Linked DNA regions of Homo sapiens: regions 2 and 3 are each linked to region 1. The links are contacts of gene promoters, found by promoter capture Hi-C in human tissues and cell types (Jung and others, 2019). All regions are on one chromosome and are shown on one strand. The core of a region is centred on a gene start or on the middle of the fragment in contact, and the rest is flanking DNA. Distances in the headings are between cores, read along the strand shown. Region 1 holds the start of PPFIA2 (PPFI scaffold protein A2). Region 2 has its middle 34 kb from the start of PPFIA2. Region 3 overlaps PPFIA2 (PPFI scaffold protein A2).

What was found. The method cuts DNA at HindIII sites, captures the fragments that hold promoters and counts their contacts. A contact is called where the count stands out against the background at its distance.
Region 2: a contact is called between a fragment that was not itself captured here and the fragment with the promoter of PPFIA2 in region 1, in 1 of the 25 tissues and cell types used here (lymphoblastoid cells).
Region 3: a contact is called between a fragment that was not itself captured here and the fragment with the promoter of PPFIA2 in region 1, in 1 of the 25 tissues and cell types used here (H1 embryonic stem cells).

Annotation. Positions count from the first base shown.
Region 1 is chr12:81,757,380-81,760,988 of GRCh38, reverse strand. It overlaps PPFIA2 (PPFI scaffold protein A2), which reads left to right and starts at 1,639. Exons shown (of 33, transcript NM_003625.5): 1 at 1,639-1,709; 2 at 2,482-2,589. RefSeq lists an enhancer at 1,841-2,779. The HindIII fragment of the contact is 8,978 bases long and covers 1-2,646 here.
Region 2 is chr12:81,791,622-81,795,411 of GRCh38, reverse strand. No RefSeq gene overlaps it. Among named protein-coding and RNA genes, the nearest start is that of PPFIA2, 34 kb to the right of the region's middle. The HindIII fragment of the contact is 5,936 bases long and covers 1-3,790 here.
Region 3 is chr12:81,716,668-81,720,362 of GRCh38, reverse strand. The region is part of intron 3 of PPFIA2 (PPFI scaffold protein A2); the gene reads left to right. Among named protein-coding and RNA genes, the nearest start is that of PPFIA2, 41 kb to the left of the region's middle. The HindIII fragment of the contact is 3,695 bases long and covers 1-3,461 here.

The DNA.
Region 1 (3,609 bases), core at 390-2,889:
AACTCTTCTTGGAAACAGTAGGAACATCTGAGCCAGTAATTAACAAACGTTGATTGCCAAGGAAATTCAAACCAAGGTTTAATAAGGAAGGAATTCTTGTAAAAATAGACATAATAGCTATATGTAAAAATAAGAATATCTCTCATGTATAAGGAATTTTTATGTTTTGTGTAGAATTCTAGAGAGTGAAAGTTATGAGTACTGATATATGATTAGTATGTTGAAGCTATTACAATATGAAGTTTGTCTGAAAATAGACTAGGCTATCCTGTGAGGTGAAGAGTTTCCTGTAGTTAGGGGTATTTAAGCCACATCAAATTGTGGGTCGATTGGGTGGTCTAGACCCTTCCTCCTCAAGTGTAGTACCATCTGGGAGTCATTAGAAGGGTAGAATTTCAGGTTTCACCCCATTCCTGGTGAATCAGTATCTACAACTTAACAAGATCCATGGATGATCTGTATGCACATTATGTCTGAGAAATAGTGCTCCAGTTGACATCTAATGAATTTTCGTATTATTTTTATACTTCTTATAGGATTGTGTTGTGTTGTAAAATTTAAATAACAGTCTAGAATAGAAGTTGGGTAAATACATGAGCTTTACCCCACTTTCCATTGTAAAGTCGCTAACTGAATTAAATACTTCCCTCAGAAACAAAGATTGTTTCTTGGATATTGTAGTTAATTTTAAGTGAACAGTTATTTACATACTAGTTCTTTGTTAACTTTGGACTCTTGGCGTTACACAAAAGTAAAACACGTCTTTTGGCTTTCGTGTAGCACACTCAGAATATTTTCAGTAACCCCCAAAATATATTCAGTGTTTAATCCTCCAATTCCTTCATGCATGTCCTCTTCATTTTCACCAAACCCAGCAGGATTCGTGACTCTCCCTCACAGAAACGTTCCCTTTCTGCTCAGAGTAGGTACTGATTTTGTCTCCTGCTTCCTCAGTCTGTATGAATGGACAGCAGCAACGGAAAGAAAAGAGGGTAGGTAAAGGGAGGTGGAGATATAAGGGGGACTGGAGCGCGATGGAGAGACCAGACTCTGCTCAAAGCTAAAATTTACTCGGGCAGGGAATACTTAACATACAATTCCCATTACCAAAACAATATGAATGAAGAAGAACTGAAGAGGTAATGAGAAATGACAGATGCCGCCACACCCTAGATTGGCTCAGGTCCCTACAACCATGACTACCATGCCCTGGCCCAGTGGGAAGAAAGCTGCTTAAAGAAATGACAAGCACAGAAGACCGGGGAGCCAAAAGGTGCCCAAGTCCGTTCCCATCCCCACCAGCGCAGGCTGACACAAGCGAAGGCTGTAGAGCCCATTGTGTGAAAGAAGCCCAGGCGGGGAAGCGTGTGCCCCCTTCCCACTTTGCCCATCCCTGGCCCTCGCCTTCGCAGGGGGCACTGGGAGCAGAGCGAGCCTCGGCAGCCCGGGAGCGGCTCTGGGGGAGACGAGTGTATCCGCGGGCGCGTGTGCGTGAGGAGGAGAGCAAAGACGTGATTACTTCAGAATTTATTTAAGGGCCGGTGGAAACCACTGCAGCAGCTTCCAGGGGAAGCCCTTGTTCCAGAGGAAGAGGAGGTGGTGGCTGCCAAGGAGGAGGAGGGGAGGAGACGGAGGAGGAGGAGTAGCAGCCACCGCACGAGGCAAGTGAGGAGAGAAGATGCTGTAGCGTCCTCACCGGCTGCCAGCAGGTTGGTTCTTCCGGCCAATTGAAGCAAGCAAAGAGGCTTGCAGAAAGGCCGGGAGGAGAAAAATGGGTGTGTGTGCTGTGGCGGCGGGGGGGCGGCGGGGGGGAGGGAAGGGGGGCCGGGGGACGGCGTGGGGTGATGTTTGCCTTTCCAGAGAAAAAGCGCCTCCTTTAAGTGAAACGAGACACGGGAGCGCGCGGAAACAGGCTGGGGGCCAGGAGGAGACCTGTCCTGCTTTTTGCATCCCTAGGGACTCGTTTTCCTTTAGGTTTCTAACTCCCAGGGTTAGCCTTAAACTCCAGAGGGGCTCCAGGAGGGGAGACTGGGTGGAGAACTTCTCTCCCAGATACTTCTCACGCCTTTTCTCCAAGCTTTCTTTTGGAGGGACGCCCCACACACCCCGGGTGGCCCGGGCGCGGAGGGGGAGCGGCGCCGCGTGGTTAAGTTTCTGAAAGTCAAACCCAGTCCCCGGTCTCCGGTCTCCGCCCCGGGGCTCCAGCTGCACGCGGGGAGCTGCGGCTGTTCTGGCAAAGGGGCCGCGGCTGCTTTAAGAGCCGCCTCCCCCTCTCCTCCTTTGACAATGGTCTGAACCGAGCTTTGCTTCCCAAAGCAAAATTTGTAATATGCCATTTTTCCGATGGACGCTTCTCCTTTTGGCTGCTGACGGAGCCACGGGAAGATGCCGAGCTCCTGCCACGCCACCGGGCCGGGGCACGTTCCGGGAGGGCGCCGGGGCACGCGTGTGTCTGAGCTGCCTTTCTCCTCCCGTTGCTAGGGAAATGGTCCAGGAGTGCTGGGTGTGAGCCTCCCTTCTCCTCAAGCCGGAGACTGCGGTTGTCATTGATCAATTGAAGAAGCAAGGACCCGAAATCACAGACATTAGGTACAGAAGCTGTCTTTGAGTTTTACTGTCTCCTTTCGCTGTATTTTTTGACCACCTCCCCGGCCCCACCCCGCCCCCAGGGAAGATGAGATGCAAATTCCTCCTTGTTGATTACCGTTAGGTGCCTTTTGCTTTCACCTCATCCTCTCCATCTCCTATCTCTCTACCTCCTGCCTACTTGGCTGTGTCCTGTTGGGCAGGATGAACAATTTTAGTGTGGAAATGATGAAGTCAACTTCTTCAAGGTGGTGGGGGGTGTGGCTGAGAGATAACTGTCCAGTAGTGTGGGTTGAGCTGGCTCTGGCTGTCCGTAAATGCACTAGGGTAAAGAAAGTGTAAAATGTGTCCATTAAAGGTGATAATCATATTTCCCGAGGACAGAGGCTTTCAAAGAGTTAAATAGGAGGGAGAATATTCATGTAATGTAATCAGACAATGGCTAGGATTTCTCTCACTGAATTACTCCTTGTAGGTTAACTGAGGTGGAGCTGGGATGGTTCTTAAGACTAAATGTTTTCAGAAGAAACTCACTATGGATAATAATTACATTCTTACCTCTAGTAGGGCCGAATTCCTAGTGATATGATTAAATAAAGTCATTTGTTGACAGAAAAAAGAAAAAAAGCTTTTTGTAGCACTCTCATATCTGAAGAGGTACTGCTTGGATGGCATATATTGTTAAGGAACACATTGGATCTTGAAAGCCCTTGAGTGAGGACTCCAGTGGGCATTCAAACTTTTATTTTGAAATCTGAGAAATTTAAAAGACAGTCAAGGCTATGTGCTAAGAATAAAGGAGTTATTTTCCTGATATAAAATTCTTCCGGCTAAATTTAAGCACTGGGATAATTAAGCCAATCAGATTTATTATTACTTTTTTTCTTTCTCAACAAAATTAACAATGTCTCTGACTAGGTTTCAAAACCTTCAGTAATTTAATGAGGAAAGCATCAATATCTAGATGAAGATAACATAATTTATATATCAAATTGACTTTGAGGGGGGAATGATGAAAAAGCA
Region 2 (3,790 bases), core at 618-3,117, 34 kb before region 1:
ACCACTCAAAGATGTACATGACAGTGTAGAAAACCAATTAGGAAAGAGTAGGTATATGTAAAATAGGTGAAGGGTGGAGATCAATCAGAGGAAAGAGGAGAAGTTCTCAATTCAGTCCAAGGGTTTAACTTGTAGCTTGATTTTCAGGCTTTAAACTGTCTTTGGCTTGGTGGTGAGGTTTCACTGGGGACCCGCCCCTGTCTGCCTAGGCATTTGGCTGCCTCCTGTCAGTATCAGTAGTGATTTGTTCTTTTTCATTGATGTGCAGTTCTCCATTTTAAGGATGTAACATTGTTTACCTTTCTACTGCTGATGGTTGAGTTGTTTCCAATTTAGAGTTCTTATTAAGAGTGCTGCTTTGAATATGTAGCACTAATCTCACATTACAAATTTCTGTTCACTTTTTAATTTTATGTGTATACTTTAGAGTGGAACAGTGGAGATGCAAGGTATAGCTGACTATAGTCAGCTTGTTAGATACTGCCAGTTTTCCAAGGAGATTATAACAGTTTATGCATCATCATCAGTGTTTGAGAGTTGAAGTTATATTCCTTGCCCTCACCAACACTTTTCATTGTTGGCTATCTAAGCCATGCTTTTGAGTGTAAGATAGTATCTCATTGTTAATCTGCTTTTCCCTGATCATTTGGAATATGCAACAGCTCTTCATATTCTTAAAGGCCATTTGTAATTTCCTCTTTTGTGGAGAGATGTTTTGTCATTAGTCTCCTTTTCTAAAAGGGTCATCTATCATTTTCTTGGTAGATTTTTTTTTTTTTGAATTTTAAAATATTCTGAACATCAGTTATCTTTTAGAAATAAATATTACAAATATCATCTATCTGAAGCTTGGCTTTATATTCTTTAAATCTTTTTTTATAAATAAATGTTATTAAAATTTATTGAAGATGTGGAAACATTGCTACCATGCAGCAGAACTTAATAAAGATTCCTGTAAGAAATTTTATATCTCATTCATCAGTATTTCTGAGGTTTTTGTTTTGTTCTGTTTTTGTTTTTATTTTTTGTTTAACCAATCTGTGCCCATAAATTTCTATAAATCTGTCCTATAAATTCATTTTTCTCTCCTGTTCAAATGCTTAAACATTTTTGTTTTCAGATAATTATTTTATATGTAAGTTAAAATGGCTTATTTGTAATATAAAAATATTTACTGTTTCAAGCCGCAATAAGGAACATGCTTTATTTGCTGAGCTGGCTGATAAGAATGAGGAAATTTGCAAGACTCTGGAGGTCGATGGATAACTGAATTATGTTATAAAAAGAAACCATGAAACAATGAAGGCTGGCTGACAGGTTCTAGAGTTTGAAAAGCTGTAGCTTTAAATGTTGGAGATGCCTGTAGGAAAGAGAAAGTTAGGTGAAAAGGGTGGAACAGAAAGTGCTTAGATTTTTATTAATTTCTGCTGTATGGCTACAGTGAATCTCCCAATAAAGTCTACATTGCAAGCTGTTGCTTCCTAGAATTGTATCTAATTTAGGGGAAAATGTGCAAAAATTTCTGAAGATGATGCATGATGGGCACAAGTAAGTACAAACGTGATCATGAGGACCCCATCACATCTGTGAAATCCACAATTCTAACATATCTACACAGTGCAATTTTCAAGTGCATTTTCAGTTAATTATAGAAAAATCATTTATTATTCTTTATGATATCATACTTTACAACGAAAAGTTAGCCCAATTATTTTAACTGTTTTTTCTCACTTTAATAACATTTATTTAAATTTTCTATGTGCCTTTTATTTCAGAAGTTGATATAGTCTTGCAGCAATATATTTATTAGAATAAATAAAGTGATATCATATTTTCAACATGCTATAATTCTCTAAATTGTGGCCATGTAAGAATTATGCCAGAATATATCCAAACTGGGTTAGTCATTTTTCTCTTTTTGCTACAACAAATTGATGTTATTGTTTAGATTTACATTAATAATAGAGAGAGTAAATTGCCATCTTGTGTTTACAAAGTAGGTTTTGTTTTATTTGACATATTTTAGCCATGCCCTTGGTTTTTCCTCTCACTAACATAATTTGGCTGGGGGAATCTAGTTTTTATTGTTTCCAGAAAAATGAATACTGGTAAGAATTGATAGTAATATTGATAATTGCCTGCCTTAAATGTTGACATGTATTACTGAAAAAAAAAACGAATACTGCACCCTCAGAAGGATACTACTGGTGATATTACTCACATTCAAAAACTGTATTTATTGCCGTATACCACTAGATTTTCTTCTCCTGCTTCATTCTCTGTTTTCTCTCCTGTAGTGTTAGAAAGTAATAAAATTCACTAGACTACTATTCTTGACAAACCAATCCTGCCCTGACAAAAGAAAGACCTTAGAATAAAACCAATCCTGCCCTGACAAAAGAAAGACATTAGAATAAAATTTCTATAAAAAGAATTTCAAGACTTCTACAATTTTGACTGCATGCAAAATTCACGTAACATTTACATTCACAAAGGTTGTCCACGTTGTTATTATCATGGGTGAGAACTAATCTAATTAGAAAGAGTGCCAATGCCCCTGCAGGTGGAGAAGGGGTAAGATGATTGACACAGAGATTTTGAGTGTCAAAAGTAGAGTGCTGATGTAATACTTTGTTTAGACTTTCAACAAAGGTTTTCAAAATCAAGAACTTTAGATGTTGTTAACTCAGACATTTTGTAAAATGACAGATAACTTATTCTGTGTGGGATCTTCTAACCAAAAAATTAATTTTTGCCTTTGGCTGGCTGTCAAGGGCTGATTAGGTAGTATAGAAGTTGAATAATAAAGGAGTTATTTTTTAAATAGAGGAATTTTTGTCTACCACGTTCCAGCAGGAAAAAGAAAAAGAGGACAGGCACGGTGGCTCACGCCTGTAATCCCAGCACTTTGGGAGGCCGAGGTGGGTGGATCATGAGGTCAGGAGTTCAAGAACAGCCTGTCCAGCATTGTGAAACCCCGTCTCTACTAAAAATACAAAAACCAAAAAAATTAGCCAGGCATGGTGGCGCATGCCTGTAATCCCAGCTACTCAGGAGGCTGAGGCAGGAAAATTGCTTGAATCTGGAAGGCGGTGGTTGCAGTGAGCTGAGATGCTGTCAGTGACTCCCAGGATGGAGTCACTGCATTCCAGCCTGGGCGACACAGCAAGACTCCCTCTCAAAAAAAAAAAAAAGAAAAGAAAAAGAAAATTCTACCCTATTGCAAGTGGGATTAAGGATTTTTTTTTTCCTAATGGATTACACAGGAAATCAGGCACAATGCTCTATAAACATGTAGGAAATGTGTTTTGAGCACCTCTATTATACAGTATGAACCGAGGACTTCAGGGAAATTCTTTATACATGCTGCCTTCCATGTGTCTATGGAAAAAAAAAAAAAAAAACCACAACCTAAAATTCCTGATAAGCATTGGTATCTCCTGTTGGAAAAGTTATTCTGCATTCAAGGAAGATGGCTTCAAGATTTTTTTACTTCTTCCATTAGCCTGGAGACAATGATTAGGTGACAATTATCTTTGTTCTTATTTCTCCTCAATTTCCTTATAAATTGGTGTGTAAGTTCAGCAAGCTTATTATTATTAATACTTGTTCTGTATATTTTACTGAATTATGGGAAATGTGTCACATAAGAGCAATATGCAGTGTGCACAGTTCTGCTGAATGTTTTTCCTGCCATCTGTCTCGATTCTTGTCTTTGCTTCTCCTACCTTGCTCTAATAATCAAGCAAATAAAGCAAACAGAGAAAGCAGCAGCAAACTCGGTAGTTTT
Region 3 (3,695 bases), core at 365-2,864, 41 kb after region 1:
GCATTTGACATGCAGATCCAAATGTATTTAGTGTCAGTAATTTAAAGCAATTTTTCCCCCAAAGCATTTTACTGTATAATCAGTAAGAGCCTTTTACAGAAACATTTCTTTTCCTAATTAAAGAATCCTGTTGAGAGCAAGTGTTTCTGCACAGAAGAGAGTAACAATTAGGGAGTTGCTTTTATTTGAAATTTAAAACCTGGGCAGATGTAGGCCATGCTTCTTCACCAATTATATTACAGGTAATTTCACAAGAATTTACACTTGACCTCTTAAGGTAGGGAATGCCAGACTATGTTTAAATTACATTTTTTTTTAAATTTACTAACTCTAAATGCAGATAGAATGGACACAATTTTACAGGTAAATTTACTAACTCTAAATACAGATAGAATGGATATAATTTATTAATAAGACAAACATAACTCTTTAACTGTAAGCAAATGGAATAAATGTTCCCTTACACTGAAATATTCTATATATTTTTAAAAGCTTATTTATGTAAATTAAGCTAAGTATGTCATGATGTTATTTATCAGCAATATGTTGCTTTTTTAAGGTCAGTGAACTTAAACAACACATTTTGAAATGTATTTGTTTCACCTAGATATTAGAATATGTATATATTATTGAAATTTCAGGAAATAACTGAATTTTTCATCTGTGATCTTTTTAAGATGTATGCTTCAATGCTGTTTTAATTATAGATTTAATTAAACTAAGATATATAAAGATGTTCAGTTAAAACTTTTTAATTCCTCCAAATGCTTCACTTTGGCTTAAATTTCTTTTTGATGTCATTGGTAGTTCAACATATTTAAAAGGAGGAAGAAGAAGTATGACACAGGAGATGAAAATTAGGCTTCTGTTTCAAGGACATCTCCTCCGTCAGGGGTAATCATCACCCCAGAGAACTTTTTAATAGCAAAGAATCAGGAAGCAGAATTAAGATCAGAACTTGCATATAGGAGAATTGACATCAGAGCTAGGATATGGACCATTTAAGGTAGAGCTGGAAATGTAAGAAATTCTCTTTCAAGAAAACAAGATATGGCTTTGCATTGGAACATAAAAATATTTTTGAATTATTAGAAACATTGGGTATAGTTACTATACATTGAACAACACCAACAACAGAGGGCTGAACCCACTAATAAATATTTCTATGAAGTCCAGTACTAACATGAAGTGGAATATTTCTTTCAAACTAATAGAAGTCACAAGATACCACTATTGTTAATGGGAATTCATATGCAATGTTATTTTTAAATTGCTTTATAACTACTTAATGATTATCTTCCAAGAATAGTTTTTTGTTCTTTATTTGTCAATTTAAACATAAAATATTTTGCATTGGATTTGGTGGAAATAACAATTTATGGAGCTATAGTCATCTTGGCAGTAGCTGACCACTGCATGTAAAGAAAATACAGCTCACTTGCTTGAAATTATTATCACTATTTCCCTTTCCCAACGTGCTGAAATTACAGCTAGAATAAATGCCAAGCCAACGTCAGACAGTGAGCATGCATCCTCTGTGCATCAGCCAGCTGTCTCTCATCCTCTCACAGTTTTGCCATTGATGGGATGACATTAAGATTCAGGACTTAAACAAATGAACATAATCTGTAGAAACTGTTCAAATATTTATAGCAGCATTTTCTTCAAATGTATTAAATGGGAAGTCACTTTCCATACATTTTAGAACTCTATCCTTGTCTTTTATCTTCAAAGAGATTTTCCACTGTACAAATCTCTAAAATTGAGAAGTTAGACCAGATGGTTTTTGAGAGCCCGTCTGGGTTCTACAAGTATAATGCACATACTTGTAGCACTTGGTGCTTTTGTTTCTTAGGGTAAAAGCTGAACACATTACAATGTTCTTCAAGGCCCTATGTAATCTGTCATGACCCCTTTCATCTAGCTTCAGTTTCTACCTCTCCACTCATCCTTAACACTTCAGCCACATCCCACTTCTCACACATTCTAGAACATTCTAAGGCTAGTTCTGTCTTGATTTAAAACTCCTCTTCCCTCAGATAACTGAATGACTGGGACTCAGTTTCCTCAGTTCTCTTCTGAAATTTCACATTATCACAGAGGACTTCCTTGGCCACTTGATGTAAAAGAGTAATCAATCCCTCTACCTATATCTTTCTCTGTCTTCCTCTAGCCACAAAGCCATGTCACTACCTGACATATTAAAAATGTTTAATATTTATATTTATTATTTGTCACCCTTCTGTAGTGGATGATGTTAGTTTTATGCCCAGATCTCTCTAATGACCACTCAGGAATGTTCCTGTCTCCCTTGGAAGCATTACCCTCAGGCCAAATAGGAGGTGCCTCTCCAGTGAGGGACAGGAGTACAAAAGTCCAGCCCCCTTGCCTCAGAGTACAGCTAACTGTGGTACAGTTTCTACTTCAGATTTTCTCCATGGGATCAATTTGACGGTAGTCTGAAGCTAAGTCCATATTCTTGTTTAGGTTTTTTTTTATGTTTTGCCTTGTCCTTCTTCCCCATTCCCCTCCTCCTGAGAGCACTTTGCCATTGCATCACATATACAAGAATCCACATCTCAGATTCTCCTTACATGGAGCTTGTCCTAAGACACAATCCTGAAAGGTAAGCTTCTTGAGGTTAATTTGTTTCTTTCATTCACTATTGTTTTCCTAGCACCCAGGACAGTGCCTGGCATATATTGGTGCTCAATTAAGTAATTTTGAATGACTATATTAGTTTTGAAGGCCCTAACTATTTTAGGAAGAGCAGCACACTGGTTTATTTGAGCTCTCATTATGCTTCTGGGTGAAGATAGTCATATAAACAAATAACAAAGGAAAATAAGTACACCCAGCACCTTTACCCTCTTCACTTGCAAGCATCTTACAATTCAATTAAAAAGAGGCTCATTAATATAAAGGTACTATTATTATCCACCAGTGTTGGATTTCCTGCAGTTCTATGATGATTTAGGCCTGAAGCTAGCAAACTATGATCTATGGGCCAAATCTGGACATCACCCATAAGATAAGAACACTTGTTACATTTTTAAAGGGTTGAAAAGAACAAAAGAAGAACACTGTTTCATGCCACATCAAAATTATATGAAATGCAAATTTCAGCATCCATAAAGTTGTATTGGAACTCAGCCATAATCATTCATTTATATAATGTGTATGACTGCTTTCTTGGTACAAAAGCAAATTTGAATAGTTGCAACAGAGAGTATGTAGCCTACATAGACTAAAATATTTGCTATCTGGCCCACTACAGAAAAAGCTTGCTGACCCCAGATTAAACTCCCATGTTGTCCCACTATCTCATGGATTCTTACAATTACATTACTTCAGATCATGAAATGTCTTTAGTTCAACAAGGCCTATGATGCCATACCTTGTCATTTTTTTTTTCTGACTTATTCTATTCAGAAAAATCTTTTTTCTTTCCTGGTGGGAACTTCCTTTTTTCTGGTTACCAGCTGCTGCTTGTCTAGCTGGTAACATTTATTTATCCAAAGCATTCGCACCTCTTTCTGAGCACATTTGCTGTCTTACCTAGGAAGACATTTTTAGCACAAATCTGCTAACAGAAGTAATAATTTTAAAAAGTGAAATACATGAAAATGTAACAAAAGCTTCCAAGAAGTTTTTCTGACTTCACAGGTGTAAGTCCAGTAACAAAACTACGTTTA